Linked DNA regions of Homo sapiens: all the other regions are linked to region 1. Evidence: promoter capture Hi-C in 16 types of primary human blood cells and fetal thymus (Javierre and others, 2016). All regions are on one chromosome and are shown on one strand. The core of a region is centred on a gene start or on the middle of the fragment in contact, and the rest is flanking DNA. Distances in the headings are between cores, read along the strand shown. Region 1 holds the start of NEK1 (NIMA related kinase 1). Region 2 overlaps CBR4 (carbonyl reductase 4). Region 3 overlaps PALLD (palladin, cytoskeletal associated protein).

Evidence for each region. The method cuts DNA at HindIII sites, captures the fragments that hold promoters and counts their contacts. A CHiCAGO score of 5 or more calls a contact.
Region 2: a fragment that was not itself captured here is called in contact with the fragment with the promoter of NEK1 in region 1 in 3 of 17 cell types (total CD4 T cells, total CD8 T cells and total B cells); the score reaches 8.7 in total CD4 T cells.
Region 3: a contact is called between a fragment that was not itself captured here and the fragment with the promoter of NEK1 in region 1, in 2 of 17 cell types (naive B cells and naive CD8 T cells). The highest score is 7.4, in naive B cells.

Annotation. Positions count from the first base shown.
Region 1 is chr4:169,611,021-169,615,001 of GRCh38, reverse strand. It overlaps NEK1 (NIMA related kinase 1), which reads left to right and starts at 2,419. Exons shown (of 36, transcript NM_001199397.3): 1 at 2,419-2,780; 2 at 2,859-2,982. RefSeq lists enhancers at 2,347-2,406, 2,827-2,946. The HindIII fragment of the contact is 11,256 bases long and covers 1-3,981 here.
Region 2 is chr4:168,994,169-168,997,717 of GRCh38, reverse strand. All of the region lies in intron 4 of CBR4 (carbonyl reductase 4), which reads left to right. Among named protein-coding and RNA genes, the nearest start is that of CBR4, 14 kb to the left of the region's middle. RefSeq lists enhancers at 1,795-2,600, 2,601-3,407. The HindIII fragment of the contact is 190 bases long and covers 1,672-1,861 here.
Region 3 is chr4:168,920,377-168,924,093 of GRCh38, reverse strand. It overlaps PALLD (palladin, cytoskeletal associated protein), which reads right to left. Exons shown (of 22, transcript NM_001166108.2): 18 at 2,353-2,560. It also overlaps a transcript of CBR4 not described here. Among named protein-coding and RNA genes, the nearest start is that of CBR4, 88 kb to the left of the region's middle. The HindIII fragment of the contact is 2,789 bases long and covers 468-3,256 here.

The sequences.
Region 1 (3,981 bases), core at 1,170-3,669:
TGTGAATGCATGGCAGAATATATTTCTGAAAAATCTAGTAGAATAGCTTAGGTATACTGCTAGTCCCCTTCCATTTACTATATTGTACTACCACTATTAATAAGGAGTTAAGAAATTTTCATAACCAAGACATAGGAGTGTTAAAGTGAAAAAATATGCATACATTTTGACCCAGCAAACCTACTTTTCGAAATCTATCCCACAGAAGTAATTATACCATTGGAAACAATATGTCTACTGAATGGAGTAGATTTTGGTATAGCCATATCATGAAATATCAATATCATTCACAAGAATTAGTTGATATCCGCATAGATGTTCATATACTATTAAATTTAAAAATGTACGTTGCAAAATAATATGTATACTATAGTCCCGGCTAGGCACAGTGGCTCACGCCTGTAATCCCAGCACTTTGGGAGGCCAAAGCAGGCAGAATTACTTGAGCTCAGGAGTTCAAAACCAGCCTGAGCAACATGGTAGAACCCATCTCTACAAAACACACACACAAGAAGCCTGGGCAACATGGCAAAAACCCTATCTCTACAAAAAAAATACCGAAATTAGCCAGGTGTGATGGCACGCACCCATGGTCCCAGCTGCTCGGGAGGCTGAAGTGGGAGAATCACTTGAGCCTGGAAGGCGGAGGTTGCAGGGAGCTAAGATCGCGCCACTGCACTCCAGCTTGGGAAACAGAATGAGACCCTGTCTCCAAAATAAATAAGTAAATAAAAGACTAAGACTAATATATAAAATATAAAAATGCATGCTTATGTTTTTAGGAACTTAGAGAAAAATGTAGATGATATTAATTAACTGTTAACATTGGTTTCGTGGAGGACAGCACAGAAGAGCTCTGGGAAGGAGACGATAGGCTTTATCTTTGTGTACTTGTGTTACTGGCTTGTTGCAAGAAGCAAAAACTTTTTTGTTTGAAAGAAAAGTCCAATAAAATATTTAAAGAAAAAGAAACCCCAAAGCACTCTTGTTTAAAAATAAAAAAAAAAATCAATTGTACAGGGGTATATAAACCAGAAAGGGAAATCAGGTAATCTTCTTAGGTAACCTGCTTTATTTACTCATCAATATATCAATGGTATCTTTGTATGTCAATAAAGTAGATCTTGATTACTCTTTTAAATGGCTTTAGAGTATTTCATTGTTTGGATATATTATAATTTAATCAATTCTTTATTGTTATACATTTACAGTATTTCTAGTTTTTCTGGTTATAAACAATAACGGTTATCCTTGTATATAAATCATTGCTCACTTGTTCCAGAAGTTAAATTGCTGAGTCAAAGGATATGCATACTGCTAGCATACCTTCTAGAAAGACTGTAGCAGTTTGTAGTCCTACCAATAGTTTATGACATGAGCCTAAAGAATTATCTAAGGAGGTTAGCTGACTAGCCATTCTTCCTGTAAGCAGCAAAAAGAATTTGCTTAGATTAGTAATTGGCAACATTTCACTTCACTTTGATGTACAAAAGGATGTGGGTAGAACTACAATTGTGCATTCAGACATGATAATTCCTACTAACTGGGGGTAGGAGGGCCCACAGGAGTGTAGACTAGAAGTAGAAAGAATGAGGAAAATAAGTCTTTTGTAGCTGTATGGCGATTGAAGAGGAGATAAAACAAACTCTCCAGCTTTTCAGGTTGGGTGACTTGCAGCGCCATCGTCTGGCAAAGCCGCCAAAATCTTTCAATGTCCCTAGGAATAAAGTTGCCCTGAGTAGGGCCACTCAGGATGACGCCAGATGATATCCCTTATTATAGTTTTAGGGGAATCTCTTCCTACCTTCGCCAGTCCTGCAGTGAAAAAATGTACTTAGACTGCTGTACATTTCCAAACCCTTCAACATACAGACAAGTAATTTATACATACATTAGATGTAAAGGTGTAGAAAACCCCATACAGCTTTTTAAAAATATCTCAAGACTTAAACATTCTTCTGTTTCAACCATCCAAGATATAATAGGAAAAGACTTGCTTTTTAAAGCAAAATTGCTCTTTAAAATGTGGCATCCCTAAGTAGTGCGCTTTCATGTAAAATAAAAAAGTCCCTTTCTCGGTGTAGTAGCTGTGGGAAAATTTTATATGCTTTATATTCCAAATTGGTTTCAACTAGTGAGTTCTCTCCCGCATCTCTGCATGACTCTTAACAGCTTTACACTCTCTCCATCCTTTTCATCTCTCCCGTCTCGTCCTTTCTGTCTTCCCGCCTGCAGAGCCCGCCCCTCCCGTCCCTTCGCACAGCACCCCGCCCGCCCCTTCGCACAGCACCCCGCCCGACCCTACGGTTCTAGCCCAGCCTCACTGCTCCTTCCCAGCCGCCTCCGCTGCGTGCCGCCTTCCACGCGCTGACGTCACACGCCAGCGCCGGTGACGCGCCGGCCGCTCTCCCTTAGTCCGCATTCGCTCCAGGGTTTTGGGACCCTAGGTTGCGGAGTCCTTACCCTACCCTGGCCTCTCGAGCAGTTGTCCCCATAACTCGGAATCTAGAGCCGCTGTTGCGAGGCAGGAGCACGTGGCAGTCAAGTAGCTTCCCAGTCCCGAACGCCGCCCGTCCCCACCCCGCCGTGGCCACTAGCAACGACCTCTGTGAAGTTGGAGAGGCGGTAACGGAGGCACTCCCCCTGCTGCACCCCGCCGTTTCTACGGGGCTCAGAAACCAGTTTGTTTGTTTCGTCGGGGTAGTGTCGACCTGTCTTACGGGCGTCGCCCGAGACAGGACGGAGTCAAACCCGTGGTATCAACTGAAGACGAGTGTCAGGTGTGGAGAGTCTCAGTGCCCCCTTTCAGTCTGGACTGTGAGCTGCTGCTGGTTAGACAGTCTTGGTTTCTCTTTCAGGATGTCATTTTCAAAATGCGGGATGGTACCTCTGCTTTATTAAGCCCCGTAGGAAGACTGCCACACCTAGACTGATGCTTATTAGTCATCACCGTTATTCCTACTAACGTCCTGTGTCACTGAGGTGAGTTCCACTTGGGGGAAGGAATGACATGCAAAATGGTAAAAATCATCCTGGAAATGAGATGTGCGTAGAACTGCTTATATTGAGATTACACAGATACCTTAAGTGTTTGCAGGGAAAATACCTTAATCTCATTTAAATGTTAATTCTCTAAGACACTCTGTATTAACAAAGCGATTCTTGGACATTACGGTATTTTTAAAAACTAGAGCGGTAATGGGATTAAAATAATAGGAATCTTAGTATGGATAAGCAAGCATTTGCATTGCTTATGTTGTGTCCAATCTTAAATTACTGATAAATTTTAATTAGGAAGCGAATATGAGTAGTAGTTAGCTGGTTACCCTGTAATCTTAGATTTCTGTTTCCATGATTTGACACAGTTTCCATATGTAAGGCATTAATTGTTGTACTACTTTAAGAGTTTATCATAACTTTTTTTGCAGGCCTATTTTTTGTTCTTTAAGATCTGCTTTAGGAAGCAGAAATATTTTTTATTGCCTTGGTATGTTTCATTAGAAATGTTTATGAAGGATTAAAAGTGGCATCCAATCTAAGTTAATGACCTTTTTTTATGATGCAGCAGTATTGTAGAGCTGATGGAGGGGAGCCAAATTTGGAGAGAAGTAACTCCTTGTTTCTAGTTTACATTTGTCTGGTTTTAGAGGTTCTACAGATCTGTTTCACTTAAAATATCCATTGTTCTAGGTGAAATGTAAGGAGCCTATTTTGTGGGAAAACAGGTTTTTTTCACGTTAAAAGTCACTGTCAGGAATTTAATAAAGGTCGTCGGACTTGACCACAGAAGTTCTTTTGAGGTCGTGTGAATAGTACATTGACATTGTATTCCAAGTAAATTTTGCCCTGTCTAATCTCCTGCCTTCTAGTCTAAGTCATGAACATGACACCTTTTCACGAATGTACATTCTTTATTTACCTGTTGGTAGTTTCTACTACAAAATCTGTTGAATATTGTCTGAATAGACTTACAGAGAAGAA
Region 2 (3,549 bases), core at 517-3,016, 620 kb after region 1:
ATGTTGAAAACTAAAATAATGACCTAGGGATATGGAAATGAGGTGTTTCTATTTATAGTTTATAGCTAGTCAGAAATCGATAAAGGATATAATCTTTTTAAAAAAATTGTTTAAAAATTTTTTTGAGATGGGGTTTCATTCTGTTGCCTAGGTTGGAGTATAGTGGTGCAGTCTTGGCTCACTGCAGCCTAGACCTTCTGGGTTCAAGCGATCCTCCTGCCTCAGTAGTAGCTGGGATTACAGGCATAAGCCACCACACCTGGCCTATATCTTTAGAGTTTATCAAATATAAATCCTCATTGGGCAGGAGCCATGCATTTACCTTTTTGAGCAAGAGTGTCCCTGTTCCTAAAGAGTTCCTATAAAAATTGAACTGGGTTTTTAATCACATATATGGAACTAAACTAGAAGTATCTTTGCTCTAAATTGGTTTAATGCTTGTCATTTCAGTTATCTTTTCGTCGAGTTAAGAAGTGATAACTTTGTAGCCAATTGGAAACCTCTGACTGTCCAGGTGATGCAGTAGCATCATTTGTTGGACAGTGGCATCTACTGGTAGTCTGTAAATTTTATAGCCTAGTTTGAAAGGCATTGTTAATATATACCTAGCAAAAAGGGGAGTAGAGCACAATTTCCAGAATTTTATAAATGAAGTGAAAGAATGATATGGGGGAGAGTCCTTTGGGGCCAAGGAGAGAGAGCACAGACCGGAAAGTAATACAAGTAGTAAGAAGGGTGTGTGAGTTGTTTAAGGACTATTAATCTCTCTCTTCAGGTCTGTGATACATGATATGGAACCTAAGAGACCATTTATATGTCATGTCCTGGGTTGTGAATATATTTATAAATGAAGATCACGTGGTTCATAACCTTTAATATAAAATGACATGGAAGTTCCATACAGCCCAGAGTAATTTATCATTAGAGACTAGCTTTACATTTTTAATTTAATTTCTGATAAATTTTATTTAATTTCTGATAAAGTGGGGACAGATACATGAGTTTTAAAAAGCTACAGACAGATTATTAGGGCAGTAAAACTATTCTGTCTGCTACTGTAATGGTGGACACATGATATTATGCATTTGTCCAAACCTGTAGAACTGTACAGTCTAAAGAGTGAACCCTTAGCTTGTGAAGACAAAATGGTATTAATAAATGAATACATAAATATATAAAATAAAGAGTGAACCCTAATGTAAACTATGGACTTTACTTAATAATGTATCAATATTGGTTTATCAGTTGTAATAAATGTGCCACACTAAGGTAAGATGTTAGTAATGGGAAATGGAAAGGGGGGGGTGATGTGAAAAGGGGGTGCATGGGATCTATCTGAACGTTGTGTTCAATTTTTCTGTAAACCTAAAATTCCTCAAAAATGTAAAGTTTATAAATTTTTTAAAAAGCTACAGAAAATGAAGAGAGGCTCTTTGGACATGTTCATGTCCTCCATAGAAAATAACATAATCAAAGAGGAAAAACCAGCATTGGTGAATTCATCCCTTCCTTTCAACTTGGCCTCTCTCACCCACTTTACTTTTAGTGCAGAGTTCAGTGATGGCTAGCAGCTGTCCCCTGATATTTGTTATTCCAAGTATCCATTCATAGGTCTGGGGAGAGATTGTGGCAAGCTTTCCCTAAATAAATCACACCCTTATCTTCTAAGCTTGAGCAGTGGAGGGAGACTTTTCATTCGAGGTGGGTGGCTGAACATCATCATTCCTGTTCTGGACTTCTTGTAATCATGTTGGATTCAGAGGGCACCACTCTCTCTTGTACAGATCTGACCTAACATAGACATAGACTATAGCAGAGATGAATCCAGGCTATAACATTTAACAAGACCTTATTAAAAGCTTCAAGATGTTAGCCTTTATCTGTTCCATATCTAGCTTACTTGGTTGTTTTTGGGGGATCACATGTCTGTCCTCCAAACTGGAAACGTCTAACTCTCCAGGAGATGCAGTAGCATTATTTGTTGGACAGTGGCACCTACTGGTAGTTTGTAATGTTTATAGCCTAGTGTGAAAGGCATTGTAAATGTATACCTAGCAAAAAGGGGAGTAGAGCAAAATTTCCAGAGTTTTACAAATGAAATGAAAGGATGATATGGGGGAGAGTCCTTTGGGGCCAAGGAGAGAGAGCACAGACTAGAAAGTAATACAAGCAGAAAGAAGGATGTCAGCCCATGTCTGTGTGGTAGAGGTCATCTTTCCATCTCACTGGGATTGTCCCTGAAAGTGTCTCACTGCTTAGGTCTCCTTGCCTGTCTAAGGCTTGGAGACCTTCCAGTATCTCATGCCTTATTCTAGATCTGCTTTTTTCCCCGAGGTGAAAAAACCTGTTCAAATGGTCACTCACAACTTTTGTGGCCTTACTTTTTGTCTCCGAAAGGACAAACATATCAGAACTAACATCCACCCAGAAGAAGGGCTGATCAGTTCCTTTCAACACAGCATGGATGAAAACCCAGGTTAGCGTTAGTGCTTCTTGAATTGGAAGTATTCTAACCTCTATGTACCTACCAATGTAAGAACTGAGGGCCCTTTTAAGGGAACTTACATTCCTAAAGTTCAAGTCAAGTTGTCATGAAGAGTACTTAATGAGGCATACTTTTAATCTTTGAATCGTAGTGTTGTAGGGCTAAAAGAAACCTCAGGCCAGGCTGCATGGTGGCTCACGCCTGTAATCCCAGTACTTTGGGAGACCAAGGCAGGCTGATCACCTAAGGCCAGTAATTTGAGACCAGCCCAACCAACCTGGTGAAACCCTGTCTCCACTAAAAATACAAAATTAGCCTGGTGTGGTGATGCATGCGTGTAATCCTAACTACTCGGGAGGCTAAGGCAGAAGAATTGTTTGAACCCGGGAGGCGGAGGTTTCAGTGAGCTGAGATCATGCCATTGTACTCCAGCCTGGGTGACAGGAGCCAAACTCCGTCTCAAAAAAAAAAAAAAAAAAAAAAAAAATTAGCCAGGCGTGGTGGTAGGCGCCTGTTGTCCCAGCTGCTGGGGAGGCTGAGGCAGGATAATTGCTTGAACCTGGGAGGCAGAGGTTGCAGTGAGCCGTGATTGTGCCACTGCACTCCAGCTTGGGTGACAGAGCCAGACTGTCTCAAAAGAAAAAAAGCAAAAAAGAAAAAACAGAAAAGAAACCTCAGAGATCTGTCATTTTCCACCTATTACATTCATTTTATGATACAGAAATGGTCATTCAGTTGCAGATAGTACATGACTGTTGGGATCAGGCCCCCAAATCTGGCCATAAACTGGCCCCCAAACTGGCCATAAACAAAATCCCTGCAGCACCGTGACCTGTTTGTGATGGCCATGACACCCATGCTGAAGTTTGTGGGTTTACCGGAATGAGGGCAAGGAACACCTGGCCCACCCAGGGTGGAAAACCGCTTAAAGGCGTTCCTGAACCACAGACAATAGCATGAGCGATCTGTGCCTTAAGGGCTTGCTCCTGCTGCTGATAACTAGCCAGACCCATCCCTTTATTTCGGCCCATCCCTTTGTTTCCCGTAAGGAATACTTTTAGTTA
Region 3 (3,717 bases), core at 613-3,112, 690 kb after region 1:
AAGCAAAGGTCTGTATACTTCATTCCGCTCATTTATTTCCTCAATTAATTCAAGTCTGATAGGCTCACACTGTCCACTGGCCATCTGCTTCACAGAATGCCTGTCTGACCAGCTGTGGGAGACTCCTAAGTCATTGCTAGCATCTGTGATGGCTTCACTACTAGTGATTATGTTACCGATCATTCACAGCCTCAACCAACTACTGCCACCTAGTGGTGCTGAGGACAAGTATTTCTAGGAATTTGACCACTTAGATTCCCTCACTGCCGTTTGCCATGTTTGCCATGAATATTCTGAATATTTGTAACTCTTAAGTGAGACATGCCATAGAATTTAAAGGGGGCAATTTAAAGGGGAGGCATCTTTATCTAAATTTGGCAGCTTTAAATAGTTACCTGTAAACTAGGAATGTATATCCTATAAATTACAAATTCCACTTTGTATTCTTTGAAGGTTATAAAAAAGCTTTATTATAACCTTGAAGGAAGGAACCCATTAAAAAAAAAAGACAACTTTAGTACTATTCTGAAAAATTCAGGACTGATTGTTAATAACACTCTGAATAATACCATCCAATGGGAAATTGTTTTCTTGGATCAGTTGTAGTAGTGGTGGAAAGTACTTCAGAGAATGAATAAGGTTTACTTATTTTCTTTTGAACTACCAACAATGAATCTGAGAATGCATTCCTTTTCCACCACTACTCCCTCATCTGGAGTGACAGATATATCACAGCAAAGCAGCTAGGAAAGAGCTCAAAAAGGATGAAAATTCTACCTGAACTTTTCAAATGCTTAATACTCTCCAACACCACGAGTTAGTTAGAAGGTTGGATTTTTATTGAATTTTACATGGTTGCCCATCCTAGGCTATTCTGGGAGAAGTGGGAACAGAAGCTCACTTTGTATTCTTTCTGGGGCTCCAGTTTTGCAAAGAACATAAAATGTATAAAACAAGTCTTAATGTCATAGCAACTCATCAGTAAGAATAACATCTACCACTTTGCAGCATTGCTGTGCAGGGTACTAGTTATGCAGAGCTTCATACACATTTTTATGATTTAATCCTTAGGAAAGCACTGTGAGGCATTATATTCCCATTTTATATATGGAGAAACTAAGTCGCAGAGATAGCTATTTGCCAAATGTCACACTAGTAAAATCGACAAGAGCCGGGACTGGAGCAGATCTGACCCCAAAGACTTTGCTTCCAATTACTGTGCATCACCGTCTTCTGACAGGAGTGCCAGCTGATGCGCACTGAGGTATCTATGTGATCAAAAGGCATATTTAACAGCAGAAAAGTGAAGTTTTAGTTTGAGGTTAGAGGAATGAAATCAATTGTAGCATGTAAGAATATAGAGTACTTTGTACAAAACTTGAAAGCATGGCTAACCTGTAGCACCACAGTCCACATATTTACCACATTTTTATGTGAAAACATCTTGGTACCATTATCAGAATCATAATCCAAGAGTTTTGTCAAGACTTCTTGGGTTTTATTCTCATTGCTACTCTATTTCTTGAAAGAGCTCAGTGACGTAGTGTGTTTAGAAGAGCACTAGGAGTCTTGTGTTAAATCTAATCATCAGCTTACTAAGTGGGACCCTGGAAAATTCAGAGAAGATTTGCTCTGATTATCTCATAAGGCTCATGTGAGGGCCAACTGATACATAATGTACATGAAGCACTTTGCATAAAGAGGTAGAAGAAATAAATGTTTTGTTATGTTCTTTCTTAAAAGAGATCAGGTACTCAACACCTAACTCTTAAGGATGGTATAAAAACCTTTCCATAAATGTGTTTTCCTTTTAGGCTTCTCAAAGCATAAGACTTCATGTAACAGCACTTTTACAGAATTTACCTACACAATAATCAGTGAAAAAGCAAATCTGAGTGTAGTTTGACAATGACTATGAGGGTAGATGACAGTGTTGTTTTAAAAACCAGGTGTGTGTGTGTGTGTGTGTGTGTGTGTGTGTGTGTGTGTGTATATATATATATATATAAATATAAAACTTTATATATAAGCAAATTCTTTGGTTCTTGGAGTCCATGCTGCTGTTACTATTTCTCTATGTAACACTAGGGGCCACTATACACACAGGAGGTCGAATGACCCAAAAGAGCTAATAAAATCTTTTTCTCTCTTTGCCAGGTTAGTGGGAGAAATGAAAGATTTCTGTTTCTGTTTTGCTAGGCCTTATAACCATGTCCTCATTGGCTATTTTGATGATACAATCTATTTTTTCAATACTTTATTTTCCGTATTGGTTAGTAATGTAGAATTAGTTTACATTTGTAAGTCTGATGTTCATTCTGTCAGAGAGCAAGGATTCACAGATGAGCCTACCAGCAACCACAAGCTCCAGGCTGAATGAGTTCTGTCCTGCTCGGTTGGTAGCTATACATGTGTAGATGCCGGCATCACGTGACGTGACTGGCTCTATGATCAGAGAGTGCACCCCGTTCTCACGCACCAGCATCTTGTGAGCACTGTCAGGGCGTACGGGCTTTCCATCTAGTTGCCAGCTTAGATCTGGGGTTGGTAACCCACTGACCTAAATCATAAAAGAAATACATGTAAATTTTTGTATTAAAACAGAGTGAAATCACTGGTAGCTAAGAAGTCTGCATAAATTCCTCCTTCAGTAGTACAAGAGGTGGCTTTTTTTTTTTTTTTTTTTTGGACAGAGTTTCACTCTTATTGCCCAGGCTGGAGTGCAGTGGCACAATCTCAGCTCACTGCAACCTCTGCCTCCCGGGTTCAAGCGATTCTCCTGTCTCAGCCTCCTGAGTAGCTGGGATTACAGATGCCTGCCACTATGCCAGCCTAATTTTTAGTATTTTCAGTAGAGATAGGGTTTCACTATGTTGGCCGGGCTGGTCTTGAACTCCTGACCTCAGGTGATCCGCCTGCCTCAGCCTCCCAAAGTGCTGGGATTACAAGCATGAGCCATTGCACCGGGCCAAGAGATGGCTTTTAGTATCAGCTCATGTTACTCTTTTGCTTAAAACTTTTGCTTTAAACTTTGGCTTCCTGAGCACTCACCAGCTTACATCTAAACAATTCTTACAGAGCAACCTAGAGAAGACCGAGATGGGATTTAAAAAATTGCTGTCATGGTCTTACCTTGCCCAGGGCTATGGAGATTAATGGGATGATATCAGCACCAGGCTCTGGGCTTCTTTGAAAAAAGATGTCCAACAATAATAACAAATACTCAGCTGGCATTTATATATAGTACTGTAAAGCTTCTCATCAAGGAGCAGCCATAGTTATGGAGAATGCATTCGTCAGCACACAGGGCTGCTATTATTATTTTATAATCCTTGAAACTGAATAACAAGAGCAATACGAAATTACCCAGAAAGCCATCTCAACAAATTACCATCACAATGGAAACATCATAAAATCTTGAGACCTTGACAGTTGTGTGGACCAGAGATCAGATAAAAGCATTTAATTGCTAATAACATGTTGTGCCGCAAAGGGTCAGGATGGTCGCCATCTGCCAGCTTTTTAGTTTTGCCCTTGATTTTGAATGGAAGAAATGCACTGTTAAGGAAGGCCTTTTTACCCCCTACCCCCAACTTTACTAGTACGAAGTTATATACAAAAAGATGTCACTTAGACTGTAAAACAGTTCTTTTGAAGAACTAGCTTTGCCAGCATCAGCCAGAGGACTCACAAATTCCATTCCTGCTACGTGATACT